Linked DNA regions of Homo sapiens: regions 2 and 3 are each linked to region 1. Evidence: promoter capture Hi-C in 16 types of primary human blood cells and fetal thymus (Javierre and others, 2016). All regions are on one chromosome and are shown on one strand. The core of a region is centred on a gene start or on the middle of the fragment in contact, and the rest is flanking DNA. Distances in the headings are between cores, read along the strand shown. Region 1 holds the start of WDR53 (WD repeat domain 53). Region 2 overlaps PIGZ (phosphatidylinositol glycan anchor biosynthesis class Z (Gwada blood group)). Region 3 overlaps PCYT1A (phosphate cytidylyltransferase 1A, choline).

The links. Contacts are between HindIII fragments. The CHiCAGO score rates a contact against its expected background, and 5 or more counts as called.
Region 2: a contact is called between a fragment that was not itself captured here and the fragment with the promoter of WDR53 in region 1, in 3 of 17 cell types (fetal thymus, endothelial precursors and naive B cells). The highest score is 5.2, in fetal thymus.
Region 3: a contact is called between a fragment that was not itself captured here and the fragment with the promoter of WDR53 in region 1, in 11 of 17 cell types (naive CD8 T cells, megakaryocytes, naive CD4 T cells and 8 more). The highest score is 8.7, in naive CD8 T cells.

The regions. Positions count from the first base shown.
Region 1 is chr3:196,565,635-196,570,627 of GRCh38, forward strand. WDR53 (WD repeat domain 53) reads right to left here and starts at 2,920. Exons shown (of 4, transcript NM_182627.3): 1 at 2,885-2,920; 2 at 1,243-1,673. It overlaps FBXO45 (F-box protein 45), which reads left to right and starts at 3,026. Exons shown (of 3, transcript NM_001105573.2): 1 at 3,026-3,668. The coding sequence starts at 3,351. RefSeq lists enhancers at 1,062-2,261, 4,279-4,827, 4,828-4,993 and silencers at 2,983-3,522, 3,644-3,938. The HindIII fragment of the contact is 1,918 bases long and covers 1,838-3,755 here.
Region 2 is chr3:196,951,596-196,956,588 of GRCh38, forward strand. It overlaps PIGZ (phosphatidylinositol glycan anchor biosynthesis class Z (Gwada blood group)), which reads right to left. Exons shown (of 3, transcript NM_025163.4): 2 at 226-436. The coding sequence starts at 436. Among named protein-coding and RNA genes, the nearest start is that of NCBP2AS2, 11 kb to the left of the region's middle. RefSeq lists a silencer at 1-57. The HindIII fragment of the contact is 1,283 bases long and covers 2,027-3,309 here.
Region 3 is chr3:196,250,782-196,255,774 of GRCh38, forward strand. The region is part of intron 3 of PCYT1A (phosphate cytidylyltransferase 1A, choline); the gene reads right to left. Among named protein-coding and RNA genes, the nearest start is that of PCYT1A, 34 kb to the right of the region's middle. The HindIII fragment of the contact is 1,188 bases long and covers 690-1,877 here.

The sequences.
Region 1 (4,993 bases), core at 1,670-4,169:
AAGATTTATTATGCAAACTATTGATCAGCGATTCAACTAGAGCCTCCAAAATTGTTTACTTAGTCTATAAAACTAAAATGATTTGTTATTATTTGAAACACACCAAAGAACACTATGAAAAAGTTAATCAGATTGCTGTGATAGAAGGGTAGTGGGAAAAAATGTAATTAAAGTTGGGTTAAATCAAAACAATTTTTCAGAAATGAGTTGGCAAGCCACTGTTTCTTGCTTTTCTATGACTGCAACTGGAAAGCCTGGCAGAAAGAGGTGAAGTGTCACCATCCCCACATTCACGTATCAAGTCAACAAGCTTCTCTTTTCCTATGGAGTTGCCTAAAGCGTTAAGCACAGCAGTTAATCATATCCTACTGTAAATTACTTTAATTAGATAATAGATCACTTCCTTCTAATACCTAAAGAAATCACACAGAGTGGGTGAGGGAAAGGTGAGTTTTTTCTTGTGTTTTTTTTTTGAGACAGTATCTCCCTCTGTTACCCATACTGGAGTGTAGTGGCCCAATCTCTGCTCACTGCAACTTCCACCTTCGGGGCTCAAGTAATCCTCCCACCTCAGTCTCCCAAGTAGCTGGGATTACAGGCATGCACCACCACGCCCAGCTAATTATCTTATTTTTTGTAGAGACAGGATTTCACCATGTTGCCCAAGCTGGTCTAACTCCTGAGCTCAAGCAATCCACCCACCTCGGCCTCCCAAAGTGCTGGGATTACAGGCATGAGCCACTGTGCCCTGCCAGGTGAGTTATTTTGAGAGCATTTTTTTCTTTTTTTTTTTTTTGAGACAGAGTTTCGCTCTCGTCGCCCAGGCTGGAGTGCAATGGTGCAATCTCGGCTCACTGCAACCTCCGTCTCCCAGGTTCAAGCGATTCTTGTGCCTCAGCCTCCTGAGTAGCTGGAACTACAGGCATGCACCACCACGCCCGGTTAATTTTTGTATGTTTGGTAGAGATGGGGTTTCACCATGTTGGCCAGGCTGGTCTCAAACTCCTGACTGCAGGTGATCCGCCCGCTTCGGCCTCCCAAAGTGCTGGGATTCCAGGCGTGAGCCACGGCACCCGGCCGAGAGCATTTTTTAAAAGGGTGAAGTGCCACAGCCGGCAGTTCTCATCAGCCAGAGCGCAGAATGAGAGTACTGAACATGGGGAAGGGGCTTGGTGGGGTGGGTGATGAGCAGGTGAAAGATTTGTAAAAAAGAAAAGGAGGGGTTGAGAAGGGTAATCTTACTTTGAAATTCTACCTGGGGCGCTCAGGAGACGGTCTGCCGTTGAAAGTCACCTCAGCGGCTGGACTAGATTAGTAAGAATGACAACATCGCATCCTTCAAAGGCTCTGCCTCGGCTGCACTGAGACACGATAAAGGCCAGTCTTTAAAAACTGAGTGATCTCTAAACACTCTGCACTAGTCATACCACCACCGTCCCGTTCAAGAGTCTGTGCCTCTAAGGCTGTTCATTCTGTCTAGTTCATGATCCCTTTCTCAGATGGATCAACTCTGCTTATCCTTGAAGACTTCAAAGAAATTAGTGAGAGACAGTCACCATCACCAGAGTCAGCACAGGTCAACTTTTCTCTACAGGCTTGGGGTTTCTGAAGTTGGACTTGATGTGGAGAAGCTGGATAGCAACCAAAATGATTGAAGGGCTGTGGCGCTGGCACTGGTAAGAATGAAAAGAATTAGGGTTACTGGACTTGGTGAAAAAGACATGAGGAGAAGGGACAGGCAAATAATAATCAAACACCATGAATCAGAGGGTAGGGAAGGTAGCCACCGTTCCTTTGCTTTTACTAGAGACTAAGAAATGGATTATACATAGCAAGAAGCTTCAGAAAAGATTTCTTACTACATAAAGGTTCCAAGACATTGGAGTTGACCAAGGGAGTCTGTGAACCCTATTATTTTAATTACTCAGCTCATGGAGTTGTTTTGAGGATTACGTATATAAAAATCTGCGTAAATGACGTAGTATACAGTGCCTGGTTCACACCGTGGCTCAAATGATGGTTATTATTATTCTCTTACTAAGCATGCTTTAAAGGCTGTCGGAAAACTTTGGGGCCACCTAGGAAATCGTAGTATAATCAAATAATGCTGAAATTCTTGTGTGTGTGTGTGTGTGTGTGTGTGTGTGTGTGTGAGGTAGGGGCTCACTCTGTCGCCCAGGCTGGAGCACAGCAGGGCGATTACGGTTCACCTCAGCCTCGACCTCCCGGGCTCAGCCTCCCAAGTAGCTGGGACCAGAGGCGCACGCCACCACCCTCGGCTAATTTTTCTATTTTTTTGTAGCGACACTGCCTCGCAATGTTGCCCAAGCTGGGATGCTGAAATTCTTCCCCTTCCAAGAATCCATCTATAATTATAGCCTCCACGTCATTCTCCCTATTGGAATGTTTAATTGACTAAAACTACATTGCCTTCATCTGCTTACTAAGCGGTGGATCCAGTAAAGACCACATCTTGTCCAAAAGACGGCAGCACTTAATTAGCGCTCAAATGGCACTCGAACGTTTGGGCGAGGGGGTGTTCAGTCGCAGCCACCTTACTTTGCGAAGGCACACAGGGACAGACGTTCGCTAAGTGCCGATACTTAGGGAGAACGAGAGGGCCTGACCAGGTAAAGACGGCCTCCGCTGCCCAAGCTACACAAAAAGGTTGGGGAGCCAGGACCCGGCAAGCAAGGAGAGAAAAGTTTCATGCGTTGAGCTGGAGTCTGAAGCAAGGACCTAACGGACACAGGGAAACGTCACAGGAAAGGGAGCCCAGGAGAGCAGACGCGGAGCCACCAGACCAGAAAAAGGAAAAAGCACTGGAAAACAGCATCGAAGTCACCGGAAAGCAGCATCGAAGCCACCGGCGCCAGCCTCATACCTGCGCTTCCCGCTCCCCTCCTCGGCGCCTAGTGATAACCTCACCCGCCGGCGCCCAATCCCGTCGAGCGTCAGGCGTGAGGCGGCGCAGCCAAACAGTCACATCCGGGGCCGAGAGGAACCGCGAACGAGCTGGGCGTGCGCCCTTGCTTCGTGCCCTCAACCCGCATGGCGGAGCCGCTGGCGCGCCGCGGAGAGGCCGGGCGAGTCGGGCGGTTTCGGCGCCCGCGCTGAGCCGCGGAGGAGGGGCGGAGGACGCCCCTGCAGCCGGTGCGTCTGCCCTCAGTGAGGCGGGGCGCGCGGCGGACGCCCCCGGGCAGGGGCGGGAGTGGTGGAGGCGCCGGCGGTTGGCACTGACAGGGGCGGTGAGCGAGCCGCTCCGGTCTCCGGGCGAGGCTTGGCCTTCCGAGCAGAGACGGCGGGAAGCGGCGGCGGCAGCGGCGGCCCTAGGGCCGGCTGGTGAGGCGATGGCGGCGCCGGCCCCGGGGGCTGGGGCAGCCTCGGGCGGCGCTGGCTGTAGCGGCGGCGGCGCGGGCGCGGGCGCGGGCTCGGGCTCTGGGGCCGCGGGGGCCGGGGGCCGGCTGCCCAGCCGGGTGCTGGAGTTGGTGTTCTCTTACCTGGAGCTGTCCGAGCTGCGGAGCTGCGCCCTGGTGTGCAAGCACTGGTACCGCTGCCTGCACGGCGATGAGAACAGCGAGGTGTGGCGGAGCCTGTGCGCCCGCAGCCTGGCAGAAGAGGCTCTGCGCACGGACATCCTGTGCAACCTGCCCAGCTACAAGGCCAAGGTGAGAGAGCCCCGGGCCACACCGCTGCCCCCAGTCCCGCTCCCCGGCGTCGTTCGCGGTGTTTCTCATCCGAGCTTCTGAGTCAGAAGCTTCGCCTCACCAGCCCGCCTTTCCACGGCTCCAGTCAGTATCTTCCTCACCTCCCCCCAAGATAAAGATTCTCTTTTCTTTGGATCGAAGTTCTGCTCCTTAACCCATCCCACTTCCGTGATCCACTTTTCAAACAACTAGGTAGTTTGCCTCACTCATTCAACTTTTGACAGTTTTCCCCGTTAAAGACAGACCACCACTCTTGTACCTTTTAATGCCCTCATCCTACTTTTCTCCCCGGCCTCCAGATAGACTTCATTATATTAAATAATCCCGGCCACCTTAACATGGGCTTAGTTTCTAAGTTTCTAAGTTTCTAGTTTGCTTTCACTCCACGTTTATCTCATCTTTTCCAAGCTCTGATTTTTAACCATTTGTTTTCATTATTTTCCCCCAAGTTCTCTTTAGTTCCCTCCACTATATTGGAGGCTTACAAGTGAGTGTAGTTCTAGTCATCCTGCTCACTTACAAGATACAGGCTTTTATAGAACGTCCACGGGCACCACCTAACATACTGCTTTGTCCTGCTGTTATTGGCTGTTTCCTTGCTAACTTTTTAATAGTTCCACATTGATGGTGTCTCTCTTTTTCTATTTGTCATCTAACGTGCTGATTACAGTTTCGCTGCATCCTTCCTGCATATTCCGCCCGCCTTCATATACAAAATAAAAATGTCAAGGAACAAGTTGTGGTACGGCTGAAAGGACTCTCAGGCCGAATAAACAAAGGGTCTTGGTCTTGAGTTGAGTTGAATGGTTAACAGCTATTCAGTATAGCAGTCAATCAAGATCATATATAAGAGAAGATAAAGTCTGATTGCAATGTGTTAAACATAATGAATGCATTAGTAACTAAAACGATAACATCCCCCCCTTTTTTTTTTTTTTTGAGACGGAGTGCAATGGCGTGATCTCGGCTCACCGCAACCTCCGCCTTCCAGGTTCAAGCAATTGTCTTGCCTCAGCCTCCCGAGTAGCTGGGATTACAGGCATGCGCCACCATGCCCGGCTAATTTTGTATTTTTAGTAGAGTTGTGGTTTCTTCTTGTTGGTTAGGCTGGCCTCGAACTCCCGACCTCAGGTGATCCGCCCTCCTCGGCCTCCCAGAGTGCTGGGATTAGAGGCGTGAGCCACCGCGCGATAACACCCCCTTTTTAATGCTAGCTTGCCAACAGGGGTCGGAGTAAGAAGTAAAAATTTTTTTTTCATGTGAAGCATGTAAAATTTATACTTATG
Region 2 (4,993 bases), core at 1,418-3,917, 390 kb after region 1:
ACTGGTGGTTTATTAGCATTACCCAGAAGGTCAGTGTCACCACTCGGGAAGGAGATATGAAGTCCCCACTTCCAAGTTCTTACCCCAGAGAGAGAGGCTGCTGCTCTGCTTGTGGATTTACTACTCATCTACCCAGACATGCTACTCCCTCCCCACAAAGTCTCCCGTCAGCTTCTCAAGCAGACTCTGCTGCAGCTTGTCTCAGCCACACATGCGGAGTTTTACCTGCCATCACCTCAGGGGACTGGAAGAACTCATCTGGGTGCACATAGCCCGTCTGCGGAAGGAGACACCACAGCACTCGGAGCAGGCTGAGACCACCCCAAAGCACCCTGACTGCCATCTTCAGATCCAGTTGTTGCCAACACACCGGGCCCAAAACCTGGAATGATGTCCCAGCTGCTACAGATGCTACGCTGGATCCACAGATCTGCATCTGTTGAGGATAACAGTTGTTGGTTATCACGATGTAAATTATAATATATTCAACTGTCTGAACAAACTGAAAATGGATCTGTCATTTAATAAAAATGACAATAATAATAATAGCTACTTCATACTCTATGCCCACTAACTGCCAGGCACGTGACATGCATATTTCATTTAATCCTTTCCACAGTCTGGAGCAGTGGGTCTTAGGATCCCTGTTGTACAGATGGGGAAACGGAGGCCTCTGCTGAGTAACTTGGTTACTTGCTGATCATATTTGCTAAGGAGTCTGATGGTTCATTTTATGTGTCCACTTGACTGGCCTAAGAGATACCCAGATAGCTGGTAGAACATTATTTCTGGCAGTGTCTATAAGGGTATTTCAGGGAGAGATTAGCCTTTGTTGTGGTTTTTTTGTTTGTTTGTTTTTTGAGACGAAGTCTTGCTCTGTCACCCAGGCTGGAGTGCGGTGGCATGATCTGGGCTCACCGCAACCTCCACCTCCCAGGTTCAAGTGATTCTCCTGCCTCAGCCTCCTGAGAAGCTGGGATTACAGGCACACGCCACTACGCCCGGCTAATTTTTGTATTTTTAGTAGAGACGGGGTTTCATCATGTTGGTGAGGCTGGTCTTGAACTCCTGACCTCATGATCCGCCCACTTTGGCCTCCCAAACTCCTGGGATTACAGGCGTGAGCCACCGTGCCCAGCTAAGATTAGCCTTTGAATTGGTAGACTAAGAAGATCAGCTGCACCAGTGTGGGTGGGCATGATCCAACCCATTGAGGGTCTGAATAAAACAGAAAGGTGGAGGAAGGGTGAATTTGCACTCTCTTCAGCTGGGATAGCCATCTTCTCCTGCCTCAGACATCGGTGCTCCTGGTTCTTGGGTCTTCAGACTCTATGTCTCACACCAGTGTGCCCCAACCCACCTCCCTGAATCAAGCTCTCAGGCCGTCGGACTAGGACTGGGAGTTACACTGTAGGCTCCTCTGTTTCTAAGGCTCCCGACTCAGACTGAATTCAACCACCAGCTTTCCTGGTTCTCCAGCTTGCAGGTGTCAGATTGTGGGACTTCACCAGCCCCCATAATTGCATGAGCTAATTTTCATAGTAAATGATAAAGCCAGTTCCCTATTGTTTCTGTTTCTCTGGAGAATCCTGACTTATACAGGGTCTAAATATGACATTTGCTCAATGTGACATTTGCAAGGAAGATCAGGGTACCCAACAAATCTGGGTCTTGCAGCCCATCCTGATCACCAGCTCCTATCCACAGGCCAGTATGGCAGGCTGCTTCTTGCATTTCTGAAAACTTGGGAAAGTCAACGGATGCCACCCATTTCCCTGCAAAAATTACACTCAACCCCATTGTTTCCAGTCACTCCCTCCAACTTTCACACACCCTGGAACCTGCCTTTTGGAAGGTGATGGGAACATTTGTAACTCTATATGATGAGAATCCTAACTCCCTCAACTCAAATATAGTATTAACTGCATCTCAGAAGTTTTCTATGTAACTCAAAGAGCAGTGACAATCTGAGCCCATGGCATGCTGGATCTGTAAGTCCACAGCATCACTGCTGAACAGGAAAGCAAGCTTGACAACCTGCTTGTCCCTCCTCCAGAAATAGTGATGTTGCCCTGACTTCTTGATATTTTAAATTCTGACCTTAAATAGTTCTTGCTCTCAGGTGTAATGTCAGGTGGCTCACACCTATAATCCCAGAACTTTGGGAGGCTGAGATGAAAGGATCGCTTGAAACCAGGAGGTCAGACCAGCCTGGGCAGCAAAGTGAGATCCCCATTTCTACGAAAAAATAGCTGGACACAGTGGTGTGTGCTGGTAATCCCAGCTATTCAGGAGGCTGAGACAAGAGGATCACTTGAACCCAGGAATTTGAGGCTGCAGAGAGCTATGATCACACTACTGCACTTCTGCCTAGGTGACAGAGCAAGACCCTGTCAAAAAAAAAAAGCCAGGTGCGGTGGCTCACACCTGGAATCCCAGCCCTTTGGGAGGCTGAGGCAGGCAGATTGCTTTAAGTCAGGAGTTTGAGACCAGCCTGGCCAACATGGCAAAAACCTGTCTTTACCAAAAAAATACAAAATTTAGCCAGGTGTGGTGGTGTGCACCTGTAATCCCAGCTACTCGGGTGGCTAAGGCATGAGAATTGCTTGGACCCAGGAGGTGGAGGTTGTGGTGAGCTGAGATCACACCACAGCACCCTAGCCTGGAGGACAGAGCAAGACTCTGTCTCAATCAATCAATAAAAAGTTTTTTTTAAAAAGAAAACGTTGTTAACTATAGTTACCCTACTCTGCTATCAAACATTAGAAATTAAATCTTCTAACTGTAGTTTGTACTGTAGCTTATATTCTAAACTGATTTTTATTCCTAATATTGGTTTACTTGTGCATTCTTTTTTCTTTCTTTATAATCGTCACCAGAATTGTGTTGATTTTGCGAATTTCTTCAAAACATCAACTTTTGCCCTTGTTTTTAATTTCTTTGCTCATCTTTATTTTTTCTTTCCTTTTACTCTTTTGGGTGATTATTTCATTGTTTTATTTCAGATTTTTTGCTATGAGCACAGCTCGTTAATTTGGAGCCTTATTTTCTATGAGAAGTGTTGAAGGCCACACAGTTTTCTCTAAATTAGTATTAACTGTACACTGCAAGTTTTGCTATGTAATAATTTCATCAACTTTTGGTTCTAAATATTTCTAATTGCCATTGTAATTTCTTCCTCCACAAATGCCTTATGGTTGAAGGATTTAATTTTTAATGGTCATTTTTGTAGATATTCCATGGATGCTTGAGAACACCATACATTCTATACTTACTGGATATGGAGTTCTATAAGTTGTCATTAGATCAAGCTTATTAGTTGTGTTGTTGAAATCTTTTTTTTTTTTTGAGATAGGGTCTCACTGCGTTGCCCAGTCTGGAGTGCAGTGGCACGATCATGGCTTACTGTAGCCTCGACCTCCTGGGATCAAGCGATCCTCTGACCTCAGCCTCCTGAGTAGCTAGGAAGACGGGTATGTGCCACCATCCTTGGTTAATTTTTAAATTTTTTGTAGAGACAAAGTCTTGCTATGTTGCCCAGGCTGGTCTTGACCTCCTGCGTTCAAGCAATCCTCCCACCTTGGCCTCCCAAAGTGCTCGGATTACATGCATGAGCCACCTTGCCTGGCCCAAATCTTTTATATTCTTAATTTATTGATTTTTTACTGCTTATTTTATCAATCACAGAAATGTGTGTTGAACTAGCTCATGAAATAGTTGACTTGTCTAATTTTCCTTGTAATTCTGTCAATTTTAGTTCATTTTTGAAGCTATATTATTATATTTGTAGAAGTTTATAATTGTTATGCCTTATTGGAAAATTGAATATCTTATCATTATATAGTAATCTTTTAATCTCTAGTTCTGTTTTGTCCTAAAATATATTTTTTCTGATATTACTGTTGCTATACACACTTTTTGGAAACTTAGTATTTACCTGGTACATCATTTTCCAGCCTTTTCTTTTCTTTTCTTTCTTTCTTTTTTTTTTTTTTTTTTTTGAGATAGTCTCGCTCTGCTGCCCAGGCTGGAGTGCAGTGGCATGATCTTGGCTCACTGCAACCTCTGCCCCTCCTGGGTTCAAGCGATTCTCCTGCCTCAGCCTCCCGAGTAGCTGGGACTATAGGTGCGCACCACCACGGCTGCCTAATTTTTGTATTTTTAGTAGAGACGGGGTTTTGCCGTGTTGGCCATGCTGGTCTCGAACTCCTGACCTCAGGTGATCTGCCCACCTCAGCCTCCCAAGATGCTGGGATTACAGATGTCAGCCACTGCGCCCGGCCAATTTAGGGTTATTATTGATACATTTATTTATACCATCTTATTTTGTGTTTTCTTGTCTTGTTTTTTCAATTTTTTTTGTCCTTTCTTGCCTTCTTTTGAATTAGTTTTTTTTCTCTTTTCTCTAACAGTTTGGAAGTTACATATACTCAGTTTCCAATATGCTATAAAATACCATATATTATTTAATATTTTAATATTTAGTATACTATGTTATGTGTCTTCACTATGATTATTCTGGGTGCACATTTCTTTTTATTTATTATAGTCGAAAGTTTTTTGGCTTCTCGAACCTGTGGATTAGGACCCTTTGTCATTTATAGAAAGTAATCCTTCATTAGACTATATGCTGCTGATAAAGACATACCCGAAACTGGGTAATTTATAAAGGAAAAGAGGTTTAATGGACTCACAGTTCCACATGGCTGGGGAGGCCTCACAATCATGGTGGAAGGCAAAGGCACGTCTTACATGGCAGCAGGCAAAAAGCGAATGAGAAGCAAACGAATGAGAAGCAAGCGAATGAGACGCAAGCAAAGGGGGTTTCCCCTTATAAAACCATCAGATCTCGTGAGACCTATTCACTACCACAAGAACAGTATGAGGGAAACCACCCCCATAATTCAATTATCTCCCACCAGGTCCCTCCCACAGCATGTGGGAATTATGGGAGCTATAATTCAAGATGAGATTTGAGTGAAGACACAGCCAA
Region 3 (4,993 bases), core at 34-2,533, 320 kb before region 1:
GATACACTATGCTGAGGATCAGATACACTATGCTGAGGTTGAGGACCAGATACACTATGCTGAGGATCAGATACACCATGCTGAGGTTGAGGATCAGATACACTATGCTGAGGCTGAGGACCAGATACACCATGCTGAGGCTGAGGACCAGATACACTATGCTGAGGATCAGATACACTATGCTGAGGTTGAGGACCAGATACCCTATGCTGAGGCTGAGGACCAGATACACCATGCTGAGGCTGAGGACCAGATACACCATGCTGAGGCTGAGGACCAGATACACCATGCTGAGGCTGAGGACCAGATACACCATGCTGAGGCTGAGGATCAGATACACCATGCTGAGGCTGAGGACCAGATACACCATGCTGAGGCTGAGGATCACATACACCATGCTGAGGCTGAGGACCAGATACACCATGCTGAGGCTGAGGACCAGATACACCATGCTGAGGCTGAGGACCAGATACACCATGCTGAGGTTGAGGACCAGATACACCATGCTGAGGTTGAGGATCAGATACACTATGCTGAGGCTGAGGACCAGATACACTATGCTGAGGCTGAGGATCAGATACACCATGCTGAGGTTGAGGATCAGATACATCTCCTTCCTGTCTTCAGGGCAATGAATGAAGGAGAAGGAAAGTAGTTCTCAGGAGGTTTATGAATTTTTGTTTTCAAAAAGCTTTACTCATAAATAAGTAGATTTTAAACCAAGAAATCATACACTGCTGAAAGGAGTATCAGCAACTTTCAAGAAGGGCAATTAGGTCGTATCTATCAAAAGACAAACGACAAATGCTTATAGCTGTGGCCCAGCTTTTCTAATTCTGGGAATTATCTCACAGTAAATATAGATGTTATTCATTGCAGTACTGTTTATAATAGCAACAGTCAGGAAACGACCTACATTTCAACGGAAGATTGAATATAGCATAATACACCCACTAAAAGGTGGGAGGATATATAAACAATTTACTTAGATATTCACAGAAATGGGTAATATTGGTGGCCTGTTATAGGGATACCAGGTGGCTGTGAGACAGGTCTTGAGAGGGAGACATTTTACTTTATGCCCTTTTTGTATTTTATGGATATTAAACTGTGGGAATGTATTGATTTCACTTGATTTGATTTTTTGAGACAGGGTCTGGCTCTGTCACCCTGGCTGGAGTGCAGTGGCATGGTCTCAGATCACTGAAACCTCCACCTCCCAGGCTCAAATGATCCTCCCGCCTCAGCCTCCCGAGAAGCTGGGACTACAGCGCACACCACCACGCCCCGCTGACTACAGCGCACCCCGCCACGCCCCGCAGACTACAGCGCACCCCGCCACGCCCCACTGGCTACAGTGCACACCGCCACGCCCCACTGGCTACAGCGCACACCACTACGCTCAGCTGATTTTTGTATTTTTTGTACAGATGGGGTTTCACATGTTGCCCAAGCTAGTTGTATTTTTATTTATTTATTTATTTGAGATGGAGTCTTGCTCTGTTGCCCAGGCTGGAGTGTGGTGACATGATCTAGGCTCACTGCAACCTCTGCCTCCTGGGTTCAAGTGACTATCCTGCCTCAGCCTCCCAAGTCACTGGGATTACAGGCGAAAGCCACCAAGCCGGGATAATTTTTGTATTTTTATATTCGTATCCCATGTTGGCCAGGCTGGTCTCAATTTCCTGACCTCAAGTGATCTGCCCGCCTTGGCCTCCCGAAGTTCTGGGATTACGGGCGTGAGCCACCATGCCCAGCCCAGGCTGGTTGTATTGATTTTATAATACAGGAAATAAAAATTTTAAATTAAATATACCAATCCAATGAAAAACTAAGAATTAATTAATGGATTTAAGAGTCAGAAAGGTCATAGCTCAAGCTTTGACCAAGCTTTCCAACCAGCTTTCTTCCTCTGTAACCTTAACTTCCTTATGCCTCAGTTTTCTCATCTATGAGAGAAAGCAGGCTGGGTACAGTAGCTCACACCTGTAATTCCAGCACCTTGGGAGACCAAGGTAGGAGGACTGCTTGAGCCCAGGAGTCTGAGACCAGCCTGGGCAACACAGTGAAACCCTATCTCTATTAAAATTATTTTTTACTGCCAGCATGTGTCAACTAAAAAAAAAGAAGAAAAAAATATTTTTAAAAAGATAATTTTTAATAAGACAAAGCAAAATAAAACAAAATTTGAGCATATAATCCCCCTTCTATGTCCCAGAAATCACTGCATTGGCTCTATGCCTATTAAAAAATAATACATTAAAAAGATTTTTGGGCCGGGCACAGTGGCTCACGCCTGTAATCCCAGCACTTTGGGAGGCCAAGGCAGGTGGATCACCTGAGGTCAGCAGTTGAGGCCAGCCTGGCCAACATGGTGAAACCCTGTGTCTACTAAAAATACAAAAATTAGCTGGGTATGGTGGTGGGCGCCTGTAATCCCAGCTACTCGGGAGGCTGAGGCAGGAGAATCTCTTGAACCCAGGAGGCAGAGGTTGCAGTGAGCTGAGATCGCGCCACTGCACTCCAGCCTGCGAGACAGAGCAAGACTCTGTCTCAAAAAAAAAAAAAATTGAAGTATCCCAGAAGTCACGTCCATGAAGTAACTAACATAGTTCCATTTTCCCTAAACAAGTCCAGAGGGGCTATGATCTCACACTATTCGATCCTGAAACACAAGGGATAGAATATACAAATGAAGACTACTTTGTTGTTTCTTTGCTACTAGACAGCATACAGCAGGGAAATTTTGCTCAAGAAACACATTGCCTGGATGGTGGCAATAGCACAGAATGCTGTTGATCAAGTGGCTGCTTGCAGCACAGCTAATCATCCTATGTTAGGCCAAGTAGATCACTGAACCTTTTCTCAGACCAATCCCAGATGCGCCTCTTGCTCTCTCCAGTGCTTCCCCAGCCTACCAACATCTCAACTGGCCACCATTCCATCCCAAGTCTTTGGCAAACCCAGGCTGATATATTAACCAAACGGCCAGAAGGGGTCACTGTTGAACTAGTCTGGGAAGAAAGCTAGCGTTAGCCATTCTTTTACCAAGTGGCTATTGGCCAGGATAAACACACCCCTGATTTAATGTATGTTATAGTATATATAATCATATTTATATAAATTATATACTTTTAATATAATTTTTCCTGTTTCTATTATATAATGTACTATATAATACATATTTAATATCATTTATATATTATGCATATATTACATATGTATATATGTTATATAGATAGATAGATAGATTTTTTTTTTTTGAGACGGAGTCTCACTCTGTCGCCCAGGCTAGAGTGCAGTGACGTGACCTAGGCTCACTGCAACCTCTGCCTCCCAGGCTCAAGTGATTCTCCTGTCTCAGCCTCCTGAATAGCTGGGATTACAGGTGTGTGCCACCACGCCTGGCTAATTTTTTATATTTTTAGTAGAGACGGGGTTTCACCATGTTAGCCAGGATGGTCTCGATCTCCTGACCTTATGATCCACCCACCTCAGCTTTCCAAAGTGCTGGGATTACAGGTGTGAGTCACTGTACCTGGCCTATATATATATTTTTTTAATTTTTATTTATGTATTTATTTATTTTTTAAGATAGGGTCTCTGTCACCCAGGCTGAAGTGCAGTGGTGCAATCATGACTTGCCGTGGTCTAGACCTCCTGGGCTCAAACAATCCTCTCACCTCAGCCTCCTGAGTGGCTGGGACTATAGATGCACACCACCACACCTGGCTAATTATTAAAATTTTTGTAGAGATGGGATCTCACTGTATTGCCCAGGCTGGCCTTGAATTCCTAGCCTCAAGCAATCCTTCTGCCTTGGCCTCCCAAAGTGCTGGGATTATAGGCATGAGCCACCACACTCAACCTCTGTATATTATTAACAGCAACTCCCTTTCATGCTCAAAACCGTCCTGATTTGGATGATAAATTATATGGTTTATGTGGGTTATGAATTATACGCTGCACCACTGGTGACTAAGTAACCATATGTCCTCCTTTAGGCAGAAGAAACCTGGGTTTCAGTTAATGATCTCTTTTGATAGATTTACTCTCCCAAATACCTACCACCGAAACATTCTGTTCCTAACATTTCCATTGCCCTTCACACTCTCCCTTTTCCTTCCTTTCTCTGAGTTAAACATATTGCTGATTTTTTTCATCTCCCAAAAGATTCCTAGAGCTGACCTTCTTGTCTCTCAAATCATATTTGTTTTTCTCTAAGTAGAGAATCTTCTCCTAGATTATACAACCTCCCTCGTAAAAACCTGGGGAGCAGGAGGGAGGTGTTGAAACTTCACTAGAGCAGGTGCATTCTTTATTGCTTTATTCCTTGTCCTGCACTGGCATGAATGCAGTTACCTACTTGGTGATTTAACATAAAACAGTCAGACAAAATGAGATCTAAGAGAAAAACCAGAGTTCAAATTAAGCTGGCAAATTTATAGGCTAATTTGTGGCTGTTTGTTCCACCAAAAATACAATTATTTTGCTGAAGGCCTTCTATTCTAATGCTTACAATGAGTAGCACCATTCCCGGGTGAGGTTTGAGCTGCAATTCTATTCCACTAATCATCCGTTTTACTGTAGGGGAAGCCTTCGCTTCTTGGTTACTATGGACCTTAATTGCTTTATGTACTTAATGAAGAAACTATAAAGTAGATAATCTTGAAAATGACTTATTTGTAAAATCCTATAATTCTAAAATTAAAAACAATTATACCAGTCAGGACTTGTTAATTATAAGCTTTAAAACTTGGAAACAGGCCCGGCACGGTGGCTCACTCCTGTAATCCCAGCTACTTGGGAGGCTGAGATTTGAGAACTGCTTGAACCCAGAAGGGAAATGTTGCAGTGAGCTGAGATCACACCACCGCACTCCAGCCTGGTTGACAAGCGAGACTCTGTCTCAAAAACAAAACAAAACAAAAGATCAACTTGGAAACAGTACACATATTTTCAAATTTTATGTACCACAAATGATATATAGACA